2 separate regions of the Homo sapiens genome follow, and region 1 is linked to region 2. Evidence: promoter capture Hi-C in 16 types of primary human blood cells and fetal thymus (Javierre and others, 2016). All regions are on one chromosome and are shown on one strand. Each heading gives the region's core, a stretch centred on a gene start or on the middle of the fragment in contact. The rest is flanking DNA. Distances are from core to core; before and after follow the strand shown.

Region 1 (6,987 bases), core at 663-3,162, 530 kb after region 2:
GGAGGTCTCCCTGTGTCGCCCAGTCTGGCCTTAACTCCTGAGCTCAAGTGACCCTCCACAGCCTCCAAAAGTGCTAGGATTACATGCATGAGCCACTGAGCCTACTATTATTTTAAACAGCATTAAAAATAATGCTTCCTGGCCAGCCGTGGTGGCTCACGCCTGTAATCCCAGCACTTTGAGAGGCCGAGGTCAGGAGTTCGAGACCAGCCTGACCAACATGGTGAAACCCCGTCTCTACTTAAAAATACGAAGATTAGCCGAGCGTGGTGGTGGGTGCCTGTAGTCCCAGCTGCTCAGGAGGCTGAGACAGGAGAATTGCTTGAACCCAGGAGGCAGAGGTTGCAGTGGGCCAAGATTGAGGTACTGCACTCCAGCCTGGGCGACAGAGTGAGACTTTGTCTCAAAAAAAAAAAAGAAAAAAAAAAAAAAGGTAATGCTTCCTTGAAGAATAAAGAGTTACTTTTGTCTGTAGATAACATTAGATGTGAACAAATGCATCTTTGTAAAGTGCTTTAAACAATGCCTAAAACACCAAAATTGAGTTGCTACTACTCTAAGATCTGTTCTCTGGGATAATAACCCCTTTCGGCCCTCTCCAGGCCCAGCTCTGGTTCCCCGGCTCTGGGCTACCTGCTCCATGGCTACCCTGAACCAGATGCACCGCCTGGGGCCCCCCAAGCGGCCGCCTCGGAAGCTGGGCCCCACGGAAGGCCGGCCGCAGCTGAAGGGTGTGGTCCTGTGCACGTTTACCCGCAAGCCGAAGAAGCCCAACTCAGCCAATCGCAAGTGCTGTCGAGTGCGGCTCAGCACTGGCCGCGAGGCCGTCTGCTTCATCCCTGGGGAGGGCCACACCCTGCAGGAGCACCAGATTGTCCTTGTGGAGGGCGGCCGCACCCAGGACCTGCCAGGCGTCAAGCTCACCGTTGTGCGTGGCAAGTACGACTGTGGCCACGTGCAGAAGAAGTGACGGCTGGGGGCACAGTGGGCTGGGCGCCCCTGCAGAACATGAACCTTCCGCTCCTGGCTGCCACAGGGTCCTCCGATGCTGGCCTTTGCGCCTCTAGAGGCAGCCACTCATGGATTCAAGTCCTGGCTCCGCCTCTTCCATCAGGACCACTATTAAGCCATAGGAGTCCTGGGGGTGCAAAGGGTGCCCCTCTGTCAACACCCTTGGCTCCTGTGTTTAGAGGGGTGGCCTGAAGGACCTTTTCTGCTGGGACAAGACACTGTACTGCCCTCTGCTGGGAAGGGGTTTTAATAAACAGACCCTGGCGCTTGTGATGTAAATCCCCTTGTGGAGTATTTGCCCTCTGTGTGGCTGTGGCAGTGGACATCTCTGAGCTTCAGTTTCCTCCAGAAAATAGCTCCATTGGTGGTATCTCCTTTGTTTGGTTTGGTGAAGATTAAATTCGATGCTCTATGTGCATAACACGCACGGAGGGCTCTTTTTTTTTTTTTTAGACAAAGTCTCACTCTGTTGCCCAGGCTGGAGTGCAGTGGCCTGATCTCAGCTCACTGCAACCTCTGCCCCCCGGGTTCATATGATTCTCCTGCCTCAGCCTCCCGAGTAGCTGGGATTGTAGGCACACACCACCAGGCCTGGCTAATTTTTGTATTTTTAGTAGAGACAGCGTTTCACCATGTTGGCCAGGCTGGTCTCAAACTCCTGAGCTCGGGTGATCTGCCCACCTTGGCCTCCCAAAGTGCTGGGATTACAGGCGTGAGCCACCACGCCTGGCAGAGGGCTACTGTATTTTAAGCTTAGGAGTCAGGTAGGTGGCACAGAGGCCCAGGTCTTCTTCCTGCAGGCCATGGGTTCTGGGCACATAAACTCTGCCCTCAAGCATGGACAGCTGGAAAATGGCAGTAATTGTAATGTTGATGTGGAAGGGGTGTGGAAAGGATTCAATGGGGTGTGCTGCTCCACACCCGGGAGCTGTTCTTTTATTTTATACGTGTGTGTGTGTGTGTGTGTGTGTGTGTGTGTTTGTGTGTGTTTGTGTAGAGAGAGAGACAGAGTCTCACTGTGTTGTCCAGGCTGGAGTGCGGTTCTATGATCAAAGCTTACTTCAGCCTTGACCTCCTGAGCTCAATAGATCCTCCCGCCTCAGCCTCCTGAGTAGTCAGGACCACAGGTGTGTGCCACCACACCTGGCTAACTTTTCCATTTTTTTAGAGTGGGAATCTGGCTTTGTTGTCCAGGCTGGTCTCGAACTCTTGGCCTCAAGAGATCCTTCCACCTTGGCCTCCTAAAATGCTGGATTATAGGTGTGAGCCACTATTATATTATATAATAATATAAAATTATTACTGGGTTCACCTGAGCTCAAATTCTGCTCCCCGTCATAATTGCTATGAGACCTGGCTATGTTGGTTCCCCCTATGGGCCTCGGTTTCCTCCCTTGGAAAATGGCACTGATGATAATGCTGACTGCACCTGATCATGTTTTTGGCCATGTAAGATTTAAGAAGTGGGGCCAGGTGCAGTGGCTCATGCCTGTAATCTCAACACTTTGGGAGGCCGAGGTGGGCCGACCACTTGAGGTCAGGAGTTTGAGACCAGCCTGGCCAACATGGTGAAACCCTGTCTCTACTAAAAATACAAAAATTACCCGGGCATGGTGGCATGTGCCTATAATCTCAGCTACTCAGGAGGCTGAGGCAGGAGACTTGCTTGAACCTGGGAGGTGGAGGTTGCAGTGAGCTGAGATCAGCACCACTGCACTGCAGCCTGGGTGACAGAGTGAGACTCTGTCTCAAAAAAAGAAAAAAGAAAAAACAATGTTGGAACTGTGTTTATATCATTGGGCTCTGGAGCCCAGCACTGCTCCAAGCCCTGCCTCCCCTACTTACTGGCTGGGTGACCTTGGGCAGGTTGTTTACACTCTGAGCCTGGACCAAATGGCGCTGATAAGGGTGCATGCTTGAGAGCTGTTTGGAGCATCATAGCTGTCTCCGAGTTCCTCTTGACGCTCAACACACAGCCTCCTGAGGGTCTCCTGATTGTAAACATGAGGCCACAAGGTCTTTTAGGATCAGAGCTGGTGGCAGATAAGTGCACTGATTACAGATAAAAATTGCCCATCCCCTCATATTTGGCACCAGTTTTATTGAGCTAGTTTGTTGGCCATGCCTAGCTGAGAAATAGAGAAGTGGAGGGAGATGGGGGGATGGGAGAGCTTTTCCTCATGGCACACTCTGCTCCAGGAGTCTGTATACAGGAGTGTGGAGAAAAGGAAGTGTTACCTTGCAGGAAGTTGCCCCCAAAGCAAGGGCAGGAGGTGGGGGTGGGGGACTTGGCCTCTGATGGAATTCTGGAATTCTGATGAGAGAGGTGCTAGCCTGACCTGAACAGGAGATGCTGACAGGCAGTGCTGGGCATGTTGCACAGAGATGGCTGGTTACACAGCCCCGTGGCAGGATCCCAGAGTGCCGAGACCAGCTGGGTCGTGGAGACCCTAACCCAGTGGCGCTAGAGGAATTAAAGACACACACCCAGAAATACAGGGTGTGGAGTGGGAAATCAGGGGTCTCACAGCCTTCAGAGCTGAGAGCCTCGAACAGAGATTTACACACATATTTATTGACAGCAAGCCAGTGATAAGCATTATTTCTATAGATTATAGATTAACTAAAAGCATTTCTTATGGGAAATAAAGGGATGTGCCAAAATAAACGGATGGGCTCTGGCTAGTTATCTGCAGCAGGAACATGTCCTTAAGGCACAGATCGCTCATGCTATTGTTTGTGGTACAGGAACCCCTTTAAGCCGTTTTCCATCCTGGGTGAGCCAGGTGTTCCTTGCCCTCATTCCAGTAAACCCACGACCTTCAGGGTGGGGGTCATGGCCATCATGAACATGTCACAGTGCTGCAGAGATTTTGTTTATGGCCAGTTTTGGGGCCAGTTTATGGCCAGATTCAGGGGCCTGTTCCCAACATGTCCCCTTTTTTGTTTTGCAAAGTGATAAAAGCAAAGGCAGCTTTGTCACGGTGAGCTACTTCTCACAGGAGTCAGGATCCGCATCTGCACACTATACAAAGACAAACAACACAGAGTAAAAGCACAATCATCATTGAAATCACAGAGCCTCCAAGTGTTTTTATCCATTTGAATGGGTTACTAGCTGCTAATCTGTCTGCAGCTCCTTCAAGCACTCCAGTTCCTGGCATTAAGTTCACGTGTGCCTGGGATACTTTAAATATTTGTTCTTTCAATTTTGCAATATCCAAATACAAGTTTGTAGAGTGGCCTTCTAGATGCTTTTTTATTCTTTCCCAAATTTTGATTTTATTAAGAGCTATTAACAGTTTCCACAAATGCTTATGTTTAGCTCCTAGAGCAGGCCATATCATTTGAGGCTGAGGTGCCACTATACTGCCATGGTTCCAGATAATAGGAACTCTTGCTGTATTTCTTACCATTTCTATCATCTGACCATTTTGTTCAGATGAGCTGATCACAGTGTGGCCATGGCATGCAGACTGAGAGGTGCAGTTCAAGCTAAACATCCCCATAGGTGACCAATTAATAATGATTCCATAGGAATTGTTGTGCAGCACCTCTGCCTGTTCTGCAAAGCAATCTTCCTAAACAAGTACGTTCATTTTTGCTAACTGGGTCCAATCCTGTTTACAAATATGTTTTTGAGGGCAGTATGCCTCAATTATAGGAGCAGATTTATTATGAGATCAGAAAGCTTGTATAACTGTGTCATAGAGTGATTACATCCAGGCATTATTGCCAGCCAAGATTGATAAATATGCCCAATAAGTATAATTGTCCTCTGTGTCAGCCCTTATTGAAGGAATACTCATGGCAGTGGTGATCATCGCTATCATAGCTACCATTAAATTACTCATTGCGACTGGTTGTCCCACTTTCCTCAGGTTTTCTTCCACCATCTGTGACAGCTTCTTGATCTGTCTCCAGGTGGGTGGCTGTGTTTGACAGGTGTTGCTCGTGACAGTTGGGGTCTTCCTCAGCGTCAGTCTCGACATGGCTGCAACCGGGGGTGGGGGGGGTCCTCAGTTTCCTCCCGGAATCTCTTCCTCAGCATCTGGCTCATGATAAGGTTTCAGGTGTCTTGATGGTATCCAAATCGGCTGTTGAGTCAGTCCTGGAGAAACACAAGCATAACCTCTACCCCAAGTTATTATTTTACCTATTTCCTAACTTTTTGTTATTGGATCTCTCCACCAAACTAGTTGTTCTGCTTCTGTCTTTGCAGCTGGTTTCTGTAGATGCTGTTCAGCTACTGATAGGATCTGGCCTTTAGGCAGGCTCAAAAAATTTAAAGTTAACAATGCTAGATTCAGTTGCATATGGGGTGTCCCGTAGTCCTTGTTTTCCCCCCTTTTTTTTGCTTTTGCAACTGCTGTTTCAGGGAGAGATTCATTCTTTCCACTATGGCTTGTCCTTGAGAATTATATGGGATACCAGTAATGTGTTTAATATTCCGTATAGAGAAAAATGTAGCTAGAGCTCGGCTAGTGTAGCCTGGGGCTTTATCTGTTTTAATAGAAGCTGGAATGCCCATCACTGCAAAACACTGCAAAAGGTGACGCCTGGAAGAGGTGTATGAGCCCTAATGTGAGTGATGTAAAAAGGGTGCATTCTACTCCTAACTGCTGTTTGCAGTTGGGTAAATAAAATCATCAGTTGTTCATCTGCAGGAAATTGTAACTGAGCATTTTCAGTTAATTGTGTGGAATGAATCACGTATGAAGAGTCAGAAATCACATTAATAGGCATATGAAAAGCAGTCACTACCTCAATTACAGCTACAGGCTCCACTTTTTGAGCTGAAGTATAGGGCATCTGAAAAACTTTACTTTTTGAGCCAGAATAAGAAGCTTTACCATTACTAGACCCATCTGTAAAAACATTTTCAGCACCTTCAATTGGTTTAAATTTAGTTATTTTAGGGAGAATCCAATTAGTTAATTTCAAAAATTAAAACAGTTTTGTTTAGGAAAATGGTTATCGAGAATACCCACAAAGTCAGCTTAATTGGTTTGCCAAGTAAGACTATTTATAAAAGCTTGCTGTATTTGTGCCTTTGTGAGAGGGATAATAATTTTTCCAGGATCATATCCATGTAATTTAACAATCCGAGTTCTCCCATTTCCTATCATAGTAGCAATTTGATCCAAATAAGGAGTTAGAGTCCGTGAATTAGTATGTGGAAGAAAAAGCCACTCTACAAGATCTCACTCTTGAACAATAACACCAGTAGGTGAATGCTGAGTTGGAAAAATTAGCAAATCTAGAGTCTTCTCTGGATCTAATCTATTTATTTGAGCTTTATGGACTTGCTTTTCGATTAGCCGCAGCTCTGCCTCAGCTTCTCTTGTTAATTACCGAGGGCTTGTGAGACCAGGATCTCCTCTAAGGATAGAAAATAGATTACTCATGGCATAGGTAGGAATGCCTAGAGCAGGTCGTATCCAATTAATGTCCCCTAGTAATTTTTGAAAGTCCTTTAATGTTTTCAATTGATTCCTATGTATGGTTGCTTTCTGTGGCACAATGGTAGTGTCATTTACTAAGGTCCCCAAGTAGGAGTAAGGAGTAGTAGTCTGAATTTTGTCAGGAGCTATAATTAAACCAGCGCAAGAAATCGAATTTTGTAAGTGATCATAACATTGGAGTAATACTTCTCGAGTGGGGGCAGCACAAAGTATATCATCCATATAATGAATAATGTAACACTGTGAAAACTTTTAACGAGTAGGTTCAATTGCTTGCCCTACATAAGTCTGGCAAATTGTTGGGCTGTTTAACATGCCTTGTGGCAATACTTTCCAGTGAAAACGCTTAGCAGGCTGCAGGTTGTTTACTGCAGGAATTGTAAATGCAAACTGTTCACAGTCTTGCTCAGCTAAGGGGATAGTAAAGAAACAGTCTTTTAAATCTATGACTATTAAAGGCCAATTTTTTGGAATCATAGCAGGAGAAGGCAATCCTGGCTGTAATGTACCC
Region 2 (6,731 bases), core at 3,735-6,234:
CTGCTGTCCCACAGCCCCCAGTCTTGCAGACCTTCCTTCAAGCACAACCTTAATTCCTAGTCCAGGTTCAAGTCCCACCTTTTATGTTCTCCCCCTCCATTAACCCCTTCTCTTCCTATTTATTTATTTATTTATTTATTTATTTTGAGACAGAGTCTCGCTGTATCACCCAGGCTGGAGTGCAGTGGCACAATCTCGGCTCACCACAACCTCCCCCTCCCGGGTTCAAGCCATTCGTCTGCCTCAGCCTCCCGAGTAGCTGGGATAACAGGCATGTGCCACCACACCCAGCTAATTTTTTGTATTTTGAGTAGAGACAGGGTTTCACCATGTTGGCCAGGATGGTCTCAAACTCCTGACCTCATGATCCACCTGCCTCAGCCTCCCAAAGTGCTGGGATTACAGGCATGAGCCACTGCACCTGGCTCTCTTCCACTTTAGAGTGAGAAGTTGCTTCAGGAAGTTTGAAAGCCTGTTTCATGGCCCACTGAGTCTCTTCTGTGCAAAGGGGGGTGCCACAGGCTTTTTTCCCCCAAGTGAAATGGGGCTTCCAGTGGATCGAAGATCTGGTGTCCTGTATGGGGGCCTCAAGGTCTTGGAGCAAGACAGTCTCAATGTTGTATGGGCTTGGGACCTGCATCTGGCCCCAAGCATCTGGAACTGTGCACTTAACCTTTCTTCATTACCCAGACTTGGATGGCCTTGTTGGGGTTCAAGGGATAGGTCCTCTGTCTCTTCCTTTAAATTATTAACTATTTATTACATCCGGAACCTGTGAGATTCAGCACTCCCAACCAGACCCTGGGATGGGTGAGAGAAAAGCGGGGGTGTCTCTCCCCTCCCCACTCTGCCCAGCTCTCATCACTGTCAGACCCACCAGAGCTGAGGGCGGAGGGATTGGGGGCTGGGGCAGCCTGGGTCCCCATGCCCCTCTCTGTGCCTCGGTCTCCCCCCTTCCATGGTGGGCGGGGGGGAAGCTCCATTCTTAACCTACCTCGTTTTGGGGAGGGGTGGGACGGGGGACCAGAGTGCTGTACGGTGCTGTGGGATCTGCAGATGAAGCGGTGGGGGCTAAGGAAAGGTCCCCTGGCCGCCACTTCCCAGCAGCGCCTCTCCCAGGTCCCCCAGTCCTGCTCCCTGCTGAGACCCACCTCTGATCCATGATTCCCCTTCATTGCCCCCAAATCAGGGGTACATGGAGGGCCGCCCTGGGAGCCAGGCAGACCTCAGACCCTGGAGCCCCCAGGCCCAATTTCCCAGCCGCTTGCCCCTCAGATCGGATGCTTGGCCCCCAGATTTGGGGGAGGCACCCCAACATATATCTTCCTGATCTTGTTTCTAAGCCAGTCTGTGACCTCAATATTGTTAGTGTCAGTGCAGGCTGAAGTGGTGGGGGAGGATGGGGGCCAAAGACCCAGCCTTGTCATCGGGGGAGGGGGCACGAGATCTGCTCCAAGAAATGTCTGTGACAAAGTCTCAGCCTGTGTTATTTATTTGCCTCTGTGCACCCCACCCACTCACCTTCCTGAACTGCTAAACCAGTCTCCTACTTAAATTCTCCCTTCTCCCATCAGACCCTCAAGCTGAGTTTTATAAGACACTCAACAAATGCATTTATTGAGCACCTAATTATGTGCCAAGCCCTGTTGAAAGCACTGGAGATAAAGCAGTGGGCAGAACAGACAAAAGTCCCTCCTGCAAAGAGCTTATGAGCTTTATAGTAGGGGAGACAATAAGTAAATGACTTAATATGTTAGAAATGATAGAAAGCAGAAAGAAAAAAAAAAGTGGGAATGGGGGATACATGCCATTTTAGCTAGAGTGGCCAGGTTAGACCCTCCTCAGGAGTTGGCATTTGTTGTTTTGAGACAGAGTCTGACTCGGTCACCCAAGCTGGAGTGCAGTGGCATGATCTCTGCTCACTGCAGCCTCTGCCTCCTGGGTTCAAGTGATTCTCCTGCCTCAGGCTCCTGAGTAGCTGGGACTGCAGGTGGGTGCCACAACGCCCGGCTAATTTTTGTATTTTTAGTGGAGTCAGGGTTTCACCATTTTGGCCAGGCTGGTCTCGAATTCCTGACCTCAAGTGATCCACCTGCCTTGGTCTCCCAAGTGATTCCAGGTGGAAATCTCCCAAGTGATTACAGGTGTGAGCCACTGTGCCTAGCCAGGAGCTGGCATTTGAACAAAGCCCTGACGGAGGTGAGGGAGTTCTGGGGATGTCTGCAGGGAAGGGTATTTTAAGTAAAGGGAACAGCCAGTGCAAGGCCCTGAGACAGGAGTGTGTCCGGTAAGTCTGAGGAGCTTCAGGGAGCTAGAGTGTTGAGAGGGGAGGAAGCAGAGAAGAGAGCGCTAGGAGATGAGGGCAGAGAGGCGATGGGGCAGATCTGTCAGGCCTTGAAGGGCATTGAATGGACTTAGGTTTTTACCCTGAGTGAGACGGAGCCACAGGAAATTTCAAACATGGGAGGCATGTGACCTGACTCAGTTCACAGGCTCCTTCTGCTGCATGTGGTCAGCAGAGTAGGAGTGGGGTGGGGGACAGCTTCACAGAGAGGAGGCTGCTGTGATGGTTCAGGACAAGACAGCAGCGGACAGGCCCAGGGTGAGGGCCCTGAAGGGTGGAGAAGTGGGCAGGTGTTGGGCCTACTTTGTAAATAGAACCCACAGATTTATGTATGGGATTTGAGATAGAGGAGTCAAGATAGTAAGTCCAGGTTTTTGGCTGGAGCAATTTTTTTTTTTGTTTTAAATTGAGTTCATCACCCAGGCTGGAGTGCAGTGGCATGATCACTGCTCATTGCAGCCTCAAACTCATGAGCCCAAGTGATCCCCCCACCTCAGCATCCCGAGTAGCTGGGATTACAGGTGCACACCACCAAGCCTGGCTAATTTTAAAAATGTTTTTGTAGAGACATGTTCTCACTATGGTGCCTGGTCTGGTCTTAAACTCCTGGGCTCAAGCGATCCTCCCACCTCAGCCTCCTGAAAGGCGGGGATTACAGGTGTGAGCCACTGTGGCCCACCTCTGGGCAATTTTTAACATTTGATTTATGTCAAAAAATAGCCCCCCAAGTGTCCTGCCTTGGGGTAAACAGGGTTATGGGGTTACTCGTATCTGCCCTTAAGGAACAAGTTCTACCCCTGTTCTTCCCTCCAGGCTCCTGGTCCACCCCCAACTTCCAGCAGAATTGTCTAGGAACTACTGGATACCAGGATACAGTAAGGAAGAGATTAGATCTGACACAATGTTTACTTAGCAACAGCAACAAAACAACAGCAGTAGTAACAGTGGAAATAGGTTCCGTGGTTTAAGAGTATAGAGTCTGGAATTTCATCTTCAAGCCTTGGCATCACCATGAATTCACTCTGTGACTTATCTTCTCTCAACCTTAGTTTTCTCTTCTGTAAAAGAGATAAGATACTTCGCCCAATAGTACACATTAAATGCTGTATATATATTAGTTATTCCTTATTAAGTACTCCCTATATATCTGCTAAGCACTTTTTACATATGAAACTCTAATTAATCCTCAGCAACAACTCTAAGAGGTAGGTACTATTATCCCCATTATACAGATGGGAAGCAATTTGGCAGGAACATGGAGCTGGCGAGTAACAGAATCAAGCCCTAACCCTTTGCCTGATTCCTAGGGTGTAATCTCTTAACCACTATGGTGCATTGCACCTGCTCACTCCAAGGCCTAAGAGGGAGAGGAGTGAAGGCCTAACAGGCACATCGTGATCGATGAGGAGGGCCTGGTGTGTGAGGGGTGTGCTGGGATTCCTGGGTCCCTTATGTAATTCAAACCCTGAGGTGGAAAGGAGGGAGGAAGTTTTGGATTTTAGGCAGAGTTGGGTGAACACCACTCCGTCTGGGCTGCTTTAAGAGCAGAGGACAGGGCCAGGAACACTGGCTCAAGCCTGTAATCCCAAGCTTTGGAAGGCTGAGAGGGAAGGATTGCTTGAACACTGGAGTTAGAGGCAAACCTGGGCGACATAGCTAGACCCCTCTCTACAAAACTTTATTTCTTTTTTGACACGGAGTCTTGCTCTGTCCCCAGGCTGGAGTGCAGTGGCGCGATCTTGGCTCACTGCAGTCTGTGTCTCCCGGGCTCAAGCAATTCTCCTGCCTCAGCCTCCCAAATAGTGGTGACTACAGGCGTGTGCCACCACGCCCGGCTAATTTTTGTATTTTTATTAGAGATGAGGTTTCACCATGTGCCCAGGCTGGTCTCGAACTCCTGACCTCAAGTGATCCACCCACCTCAGCCTCCCAAAGTGCTGGGATTACATGCGTGAGCCACCGTGCCCGGCCTCTACAAAACTTTAAAAAAAAAAAAAAATTGGCCGGTTGCAGTGGCTCACGCCTGTAATTCCAGCACTTTGGGAGGCCGAGGCAGGCGGATCGCTTGAACCCAGCAGTTGGAAACCAGGCTGGGCAACATGAGGAAACCTTGTCTCTACAAAAAAATTAAAAACAAATCAGCCAGGCGCGGTGGTCTGCGCCTGTGGTCCCAGCTACTAGGTGTAAGCCACCAAGGCTGACTGATTTTTAAAAATTTAGCTGGGAGGCTGAGGCGGGAGGATCTCTTGAGCCCAGAAGGTCGAGACTGCAGTGAGCCGCGATGGCGCCACTGCAGTCCAGCCTGAACGATAGAGCGAAATCTGCCTCAAAAACAAACCAACAAAACACCAGCAGAAGACAACTGAGGGAGGAAAAGGAAAATGGCACCGAAGTTGTTTTTATGTCGCCGCAACAGTGACACCCGCCGCCAGCTTGTCTTGACAGCGGAGATCCCGAACGCACTGCAATTTACAGCTCCAGGGGGCGTTCCTACAACCCCGACAGGTTAGCCGAGGGGCGGGGCGGGCGGGCCCCGGGGCGGGTTCGGCGTCCTCCTGCGCCAATGGGAGCACCCAAGCCCCTGCGCGGGAAGATGCCGATTGGTCAGTGCCGCCGGACGCTGCGGGGAGCTCGTGCGCGCGGCGCTTTTGGGGCGGAGCCTGCCACCGGCCGCCAGGGGGCGCGCCGAGACCACACTTTCATGGAGGCGGTGAAGGCGGAAGCGTGGGAGGGGGCCGCGGTGGCCCAGGACCTGCTGGCTCTGGGGTAAAAGGGTGTGCGGTGAGGCTGGTGGGTGCAGGAAGGCCAGGTCTGCCCCCTGGACGCGGACGAAAAGGGATTCCCAGTGACATCCCCGCCCCCTCCCGCTGCCTCGGTCCCCACAGGTATGGAGGTGTCCCGGGGGCGGCGTCGCGGGGCGCCTCATGCCCAGACTTCAGGGGGCTGTGCGTGCGGCTGGCGGCGGAGCTGGCGACGCTGGGCGCCCTCGAGCAGCAGCGAGAGGCGGGCGCGGAGGTGCTGAGCGCCGGCGACGGTAAACACGGAGCGGGAGGGTGGCAGGGGGGCCGCCACGGGGCCACCGAGCCCTGACACCCCTGTCCTCGCAGGCCCTGGCGCGGAGGAGGACTTTCTGCGGCAGCTCGGCAGCCTGCTGCGGGAGCTGCACTGCCCGGATCGCGCGCTCTGCGGCGGGGATGGCGCGGCTGCGCTTCGGGAACCCGGTGCCGGACTGCGCCTGCTGCGTGAGTCCCGGGATGCAGAAGTGGCAAGGCCATGGCCTCCGGAGCGGCGGGCTCTGACTTTTTAGGGGAAATCGAGGTTCCCAAGGGGTGTGGTCAGAACTTTGGGGCGGCCCAGAGGGTACGAGGTGGGTGGGGTGAGCATGTTGGGGCAAGCAGAGCGCTCTAAAATGGGCGGGGGTAGAATTTCGTTTTATTTTTTATTTATTTTATTATTATTATTTTTGAGATGGAGTTTCACTCTTGTTACCCAAGCTGGAGTGCAGTGGCGTGATCTCGGCTCACTGCAACCTCCACCTCCCAGGTTCAAGTGATTCTCTTGCCTCAGCCTCCCGAGTAGCTGGGATTACAGGCGCGCGACACCACACTCGGCTATTTTTAGTAGAAACGGGGTTTCACCATGTTAGCCAGGCAGGTCTCGAACTCCTGACCCCAGGTGATCTGTCCACCTCGGCCTCCCAAAGTGTTGGGATTACAGGCGTGAGCCCACCACGCCCGGCCCGGGGTTAGAATTTTAATTGGAGGGCCTAGGAGCTCAAGTGGGTTGGATTAGGAGGAAGGCTTGAGGTTTCAAAGTGGGCAGGAGTGGAATTCGTAGGAGGGGACAGGGTCTCAAGGTGGGGCTTACTCTGGAAGGCTTTAGGTGGGGGGGACTAGAAGGTGGAGGATTTTGTTTTGTTTTGTTTTTAAGTGGAGGTGGGGTCTCCCTATGTTGCCCTGTCTGGTCTTCAACTCCTGGCTTCAAGCGATCCTCCCACCTCAGCCTCCCAAGGTGTTGGGATTACAGGCTACAGGCATGAGCCACTGTGCCTGGGCAAAGGTGGAGGTTTTAAAGCCGGTGGAGCCTCTTTTTTTTTTGAAATGGAGTCTCGCCCTGTTGCCAGGCTGGAGTACAGTGACATGATCTCAGCTCACTGCAACCTCCAACTTCCTGGTTCAAGCGATTTTCCTGCTTCAGCCTCCCGAGTAGCTGGGATTACAAGCACTCACCACTATGTCCTGCTAATTTTTGTATTTTTAGTAGAGACACAGTTTCACCATGTTGGCCAGGCTGGTCTCCATCTCCTGACCTCGTGATCCGCCCGCCTCTGCCTCCCAAAGTGCTGGGATTACAGGTGTGAGCCACCGCACCCGGCCATCAGTGGAGC

Evidence for each region. The method cuts DNA at HindIII sites, captures the fragments that hold promoters and counts their contacts. A CHiCAGO score of 5 or more calls a contact.
Region 1: a contact is called between a fragment that was not itself captured here and the fragment with the promoter of FAM98C in region 2, in 11 of 17 cell types (non-activated CD4 T cells, M0 macrophages, total B cells and 8 more). The highest score is 10.1, in non-activated CD4 T cells.

The regions. Positions count from the first base shown.
Region 1 is chr19:38,931,731-38,938,717 of GRCh38, forward strand. It overlaps MRPS12 (mitochondrial ribosomal protein S12), which reads left to right. Exons shown (of 3, transcript NM_033362.4): 3 at 603-1,438. The coding sequence ends at 970. LOC124904713 (a long non-coding RNA gene) reads right to left here. Exons shown (of 2, transcript XR_007067253.1): 2 at 3,093-5,122. Among named protein-coding and RNA genes, the nearest start is that of MRPS12, 4.3 kb to the left of the region's middle. The HindIII fragment of the contact is 303 bases long and covers 1,762-2,064 here.
Region 2 is chr19:38,398,109-38,404,839 of GRCh38, forward strand. It overlaps FAM98C (family with sequence similarity 98 member C), which reads left to right and starts at 4,985. Exons shown (of 8, transcript NM_174905.4): 1 at 4,985-5,110; 2 at 5,230-5,378; 3 at 5,452-5,586. The coding sequence starts at 5,046. SPRED3 (sprouty related EVH1 domain containing 3) reads left to right here. Exons shown (of 6, transcript NM_001394336.1): 6 at 1-1,479. RefSeq lists silencers at 2,051-2,209, 4,772-5,101, 5,292-5,491. The HindIII fragment of the contact is 11,725 bases long and covers 3,933-6,731 here.